Linked DNA regions of Homo sapiens: region 2 is linked to region 1. The links are contacts of gene promoters, found by promoter capture Hi-C in human tissues and cell types (Jung and others, 2019). All regions are on one chromosome and are shown on one strand. Each heading gives the region's core, a stretch centred on a gene start or on the middle of the fragment in contact. The rest is flanking DNA. Distances are from core to core; before and after follow the strand shown. Region 1 holds the start of RGS7 (regulator of G protein signaling 7). Region 2 overlaps RGS7 (regulator of G protein signaling 7).

Region 1 (3,269 bases), core at 734-3,233:
AGAGTGGTGTCCGGGTTAATTTATGCTGAAAAGTCAATTCATATGACAATTGAGAATTGACCATCAGCTTAGCACCATGGAGGTCATTTGCCAAAGTGGAACAGGTTCAACATGGAATGGAAAGATTTTGGCATAAAGGGAAGAAGGAAAATAGGGTGGCAATAAGTGGAAAGGGTGTCAAGAGATATTATATATATGTATGTTTATGTGTGTGTATAATTTATATATATAAATTAAATAGAGCCAATTATATATATGATAAATAGAGCTATATATATATATAGGCTCTCTATATATAGAGCTTGGGTACAGCTTCCTATGAGGATGGAAACTTTACCCAGAGATGCAAAGGAGGAGGAAGACTGCTTCCTTCAGGCGGTTCTCTCTTAAGAGGAAAATGGTCAAACTGAGTGAGCATACCCAGTTGTATTTGCAAATTTATTAATCCAAGTCATGCAAGTCACATCAACTTCTCAGGAGCAGACTGAACAAGAGGGAAGAGAGAGGGGTTAAAGGAGGGATAAGTAGATTTCAGCGAGAGCAAAAACGTTAAAGAAATATTTCGAGAAGTCGAAAACGAAGAGAATTTTGCTGAAGAAGATTCTAAGTTCCAGAGGCTACAGTGGAAAGATGTGGGGAGTTGGAGTGGGAGACAGGTCAGACTAGAGTGTGTGTAGTTTGGGACAATGATATTTCTCCTGTAGTACTTGGAACAGGGGCTAGGTTAGATAAATATTTGTTCCTTGAGAGAAACCTGACAAGACCTGCATGGGGCTGGGGTAATACATTGGTCCACATGGACCCCTGTTTGAGTAGAAGTGTTATCTCCAATAAGGTCTAGTCTGCTTAGACCAAGGGGTCAGGAAAGGCTGACCTTGATTATCTTCTCCTTCTGTCCCTCCCTCTCCTCCACACCTGGCCCAGTAGAGGAAGGAAAACTAGATTTACAGCTGATCTTGATTATCTTCTCCTTCTCTCCCTCCCTCTCCTCCACAGCTGGCCCAGGAGAGGAAGGAAAACTAGATTTACAGCGGCCCAGCCCTTCCCCCTGAAAGCCAGAGGCACAGGTTGCTTTACTACCACCGAGACAAAAGTGATCTGTCTCCTTTATGTCATTCTAATCCTTACAGAAGAATTTGTGGCAGCAGTACGAAGACTATAGCTAGGAGGATCAGCACCTCAGAAGCTCTTTGAAAATTGCTAGAGGATGAGGGCAGTGGGCAAGAGGAAAGTTCCTCTGAGCACCTTCTGTTAAAAGGAGAAGCCAGGCCTTGGGGATGTTCCTTCAGTTTCACAAGTGGCAAGATTTTCACCTCCGGTTGGCAGCTTTCAAATCGTTTCCCATTTCTCCAACTTAGGAAGAAGCTGTGAAAACCGCAGGCAAACGGGGATGAATGATTCATTTGGTCCTGGCCATTTCCTTCATTCCTAGGGTGTCTCAATATCTCTCTACTCTGTTATTTAAGCATAATAATAATAATAATAATAATAATAATAATAATAATAATAATAATAATAAATCATCTGCTTCCCTGGGACTTTCAGCGGAGTCGTTAGGCACGTGATGAAACCTTGGTTTGCACGGGGCTCCATCCATCCATTCATCCGTGCATCCGTCCGTCCATCTGTCCATCCATTCACTAGACCACCCACCCACCTACCACCCACCCACCCATCGCACAGCCTTCCTCCCTTTCCGGCTTACACTGGGCGTTAAACTCCGGTCTCTCCAGGCCTCCGGCGCACGTACACACGCGCGGGCGAGCGGGCGGGGTGTGCGGGAGCGCGGGCTGGCCGCGCCGGGGGCAGGACTACAGCCTCCCGAGGGGCGCGAGGGCGGGAGGCCGGGGAGGCCCGGGAGGCCCGGGCGGTGTGGCGGCGGCCGAGCCGAGCCCATCCGAGCCGGCACCTTCGGACGCCCCTGTCCCACGTGACTGTCCCCTCCTCCCTCCTCCCAGTCGCGCGCACGGGCCGGGCGTCTCGACTCCCGCGCGCGCTCGGCTGGTCCCAGTCCCCGGGAGAAGAAGCGGAGGAGGGAGAGAGCCAGCGAGGCGGCCCAGGGGAGCGGGCGCGAGTGGCGGCTGCCGGAGCCGCCTGTGCACGGGCGGCGGCGAGGCGAGGGTGGCGGTCGCCTGAGCAGCTAGAGCCGGGGCGGCGCGGAATCCGCATCCGCCGCGAGTGTGATGAAGCTACCCTGCCTCGCTGCTCCGCTTGCCGCCAGCTGACACCGCCTGCACCCAGCCCGCCCGGGAGGGGAGACGCCGCGGGGCCGTGACCTTGGCGGAGGAGGTAAATAGGGAAGGCGGGCGGGGAGGAGGCAGCGCCACCCAGAGCCCTCCCGGCCCCCGGCCCGCACCCAGCCCTCGCTCTGCGCAGCGGGAGCGTCCGCGGGCGCAGGGCGGCCGCCCCCGGGAGCCCCGCGCCGGGGCTGGGCTACGGGCGCCGCGCGCACCCCGCGGTCCACGGTGCTGAAACTGCTGCCCGGCTCCGGCGGCCGCCGCGGCGCGGGGCACAGGCTCGCCTGCCATTTGCTGCTGCCGTGAGAGCGAGCAAGGGGAGCAGGGGCTTGCCTGTTTTCTCCTCTTTGGCTGGTTGCTCTGGAGGCTTCTGCAGTTAGGCTTTTACCCACGGTGACCCGGGTAAAATGGCCTGAAGGCTTGACCTCCCACTAGTTCTTGTTGCCGGGACATATTCTGGTGTCTTCTTGCAAAAATTAGGCAGGATTACCTCCGGACTTCCGAAGCGAAGTGGGGAGAAAGGAGAGCAGCCGGTGGCTGGCAGCGCAGGCAGGTGAAAGTAGGCGAAGCATATACTCCGGCTCTGTGTGGGAGACCCGGGGGAATAGAGAGGAAGCCCGTGCGCTGGAGAATGACACCGGGAATGGGCCTCTCTGATGGGCTGCAGGTGGGGACACTAGACAGATACCTAGGAGAAAGTGTGCTAACCCGCCCCCCACTCCCCCACCGCATCCCCCAGGTGTTGCCTTTCCACCCTTTGGGGAAAACATCACCAAGTTCAGATGCAAGTATTGGGAGAGAAGAGAACTCTGTACTAGGAAAATGCTACCCACGAGTTTTTAGGGTGAGCATCAAACACTTCTCAAAATGAGTATCCAGAAAATGAAGTCAGCTAAAACAATAACCAAATGGCTATTTCTACCTGGAAGATTGTAATTTCTTACAATTCCTTGAGGTTATTGTAGGTGTCAACTCACTTTTTAAAAAATCCATGTCCTGTGTCACTTTCTCCAGCCAGCCCCAGTTTGTAAG
Region 2 (3,103 bases), core at 194-2,693, 410 kb after region 1:
CAGCCCTTGAGAATCATCAGGATTGAGTTATAAGCAACTGAAATTAAAATCAGCTTTTATATTTCGTATTGGGCTATTTTTCTCTTTCGTGTTAGAGTATTGGGACATGGGCAATGGCAAGAATGTCTGAGAAATAAAGAAAAATCCATTTCCCTTTGACACAAGGAGGCAAAAATAAGGATGGCGGCTGCTCTGCCACAACTTCTAGCTAGTGTTTTGACTGCACATCTTGTCATGGACTCAGAACTAAAAAGTCTTTAGTGATCCCCGCTGCATTTACAGATGCCAGCTCTAAGAAAGGAAGTGACTTGGCTGGATGCGTGGCACACGCCTGTAATCCCAATGCTTGGGAAGGCCGAGGCAGGCAGATCACGAGGTCAAGAGATAGAGACCATCCTGCCCAACATGGTGAAACCCTGTCTCTACTAAAATACAAAAATTAGCCGGGCGTGGTGGCGCATGCCTGTAGTCCCAGCTACTTGAGAGGCGGAGGCAGGAGAATCGCTTGAACCTGGAAGGCGGAGGTTGCAGTGAGCGAAGATCGCGCCACTGCACTCCAGACTGGTGACAAAGTGAGACTCCATCTCAAAACAAAAGAAAGGAAGTGACTTACTCCTGACATGCAGTTACAGGCACTAGGATTAGAATTTAAGCCCCATGACTTGCAGTTGAGCCTTTTTTTCCCATGATTTCCACATGTGCTTGTTTGGCAGTGTGTGCTCTCTCTGATTTGAAGAAATACATGCTGTAGAAACTCCTCTGCCTACTAAAAAGTTAATTCAGTGCCCTACTTTCTTCCAGCTCATTCAGCCAGATTAACTAATGGAAATTTTGCAGAATGTATACTGAATTTTAGATGGAATGTTGTTTTCCACTGTAATTTATTACTGCCCTGGCCCTTGCCATTGTGATGGTTTCCTCACACTGTACTTAGATGAAGTAAGCATGATTTTTATCTCATCTGAATACTATTCTATGCACCTAACATATATATATATATATATATATATATATATATATATATATATATATATATACACACACACACACACACACACATATAATATAACAGAATCTTGTTAAAGGATTGGCTGATGGAACTACCTATCTAAATCTGGGGAATGAACATGCTAATATCATATAGGCTGTATAATGTAGATCTGAAACCAGTTATTCACACCAGTATTACATGGATCATTTTTTCAAATTTCAGCATGATTTTTCATCTATGCAGAATGCCTAAGATGTCATAACTGCCATTAGACATCTAGACTGGTCTACTCTGTGTGTGTAAAAAAGATCGTTGACTTATGATTATCTGTTGCTCTCACTGCCAATTGCTTTATTATTTTAATGTCGATTTTCTTTTTTTAGTCCTAGGCAAATATTATGCTTCCCTAAGAATTCATCTCCCATTCTGATTGCTGTCCCCGTGCTCTCTCTGTCCCTGTTATTCTTCTACTGTCAGGTTCAGGGTGTCCTCACATCAGTCCTCCTCTAAAGCAGGCAGGTCTCTCATTGGCATCTGGTATTCACAGTATGGTTTTGTAAACCTAGCGTGTGGAGCATGCCGCCTTTGGAAATCTGTGGCTATCCCTGTGATATATAATAAGTTTGTCCCTAATTTCTTTTTGGGATTTTGTTAGTGTTCTTTGCTGTAGGGAAAAACATAGGCATATTTCAGCCCACAAAACACTCTGGTTTGATCACCTGGGGCGTTTAAAATAGAGTTGAATTGGAAGTGTTTAACATGACTGGGAAACCCAGAGCAACACTAGCTACTAATGTTTCCCATCGCCCCTTAAACTAGATTAAGTGCTCCTGAATGTGACACTTCATAAGTATCAACTGATAATAACTCTCATCTCAGGAGCATGTCTGTGTGGTAGACTGTGTTTTAAGTGCATTGTGCATATTATCTCAATGGATCCTTACTGCTAATCTTTGGCATTATTATTTTGTCAACTTCTTACAGATGATTACAGATGAGGGCACCAAGGCCCAGAGAATCCAAGTCTCTTGCTCAGGTCACACAGCCAGCAAATGAGGGACCCGGGATGTGAACCTAGGCAGGGGACTGGCATAGCCTTTGTACTCTGCTCCTTTTTTGGAAATAGCGTTTACTTATATTAATTTCTTATTGCATTCCTCAATGTTGATATAAATTATGATTCTGTTTTTATTTCTCCCAAATAGAATCTCTTTTAGCTTATCTATTCTATGTCACCTTATTATTCACTTCTCTATCCCGAATTATGATTGCTGTTGAGAAAGCGGCACTTGATTTTTCTTACATGCAAATGATGTTTTTTTTAAAAAGATGAAAGCTGAGGTACTTCTTTTACTAACTCCTACTGTTGAGAAAATAAACTTACTTCAGAAATTTCTAAATATGGTAATAGTCCATTTTTACTTGGTTTTGTTGGAGAATAAAATGTTCCGCATATGAGATTTTTCTACATGAATAATCTTACCTTTCCAAATGCCAGTTCTAAAAAATAAAGCATAATATTTTGAAGGATTTCTAAAATGACCACTTCCATGTCTTCTTAAACAGAAAGTAACAAGTCTAACATATCTTCTTTTTATGGCTCAGAATTGTCCTGATGAATACCTGTTATTTTATCATTAAGTAACTTACCTTTGTCTTCATTTTAGCATCTCTGTTTCCTTAATATAATCAGCTGCCATCTTTTTTCTTTTTAGATTTTCTTTTAAAATATTTCTCCCCACACACTACTGATACTTATACTGTGTTGGAAATGAAAAAAATGTTAATACATGCACATAAATAAGAGTAAATAACATGATAGTGATAAAAATACAGGATTCAGTGAAGTTTTTAAATTACTTTCTTGACTCAGAGGCATTTTATTAATCGTTGCAAAATTATGAGCTGTATTTAAAAGAAGAGGAGGCTGCAAGAAGTTGAGCCTCTGGGTAAGAAAAATATTACTGAGTTTTAAAATTACATTGTAAATATAGAGTACTTTACACTCAAGTACTCAAGCCTCTTTTATAAGCACCGTGAGCTAACCGATTGCACCCCTGGAGTTCCACAAGCCTCTTTTATACTGTGGTTTTCATCCTGTTAACTTTTTGA

What was found. Contacts are between HindIII fragments. The study calls those that stand out against the background at their distance.
Region 2: a fragment that was not itself captured here is called in contact with the fragment with the promoter of RGS7 in region 1 in 1 of the 25 tissues and cell types used here (small bowel).

What each region holds. Positions count from the first base shown.
Region 1 is chr1:241,355,919-241,359,187 of GRCh38, reverse strand. RGS7 (regulator of G protein signaling 7) reads left to right here and starts at 1,983. Exons shown (of 19, transcript NM_001364886.1): 1 at 1,983-2,289. It overlaps LOC124904601 (a long non-coding RNA gene), which reads right to left and starts at 1,936. Exons shown (of 2, transcript XR_007067052.1): 1 at 1,706-1,936; 2 at 1-1,365. RefSeq lists a silencer at 2,082-2,131. The HindIII fragment of the contact is 13,432 bases long and covers 1-3,269 here.
Region 2 is chr1:240,942,217-240,945,319 of GRCh38, reverse strand. All of the region lies in intron 4 of RGS7 (regulator of G protein signaling 7), which reads left to right. Among named protein-coding and RNA genes, the nearest start is that of MIR3123, 190 kb to the left of the region's middle. The HindIII fragment of the contact is 5,456 bases long and covers 1-3,103 here.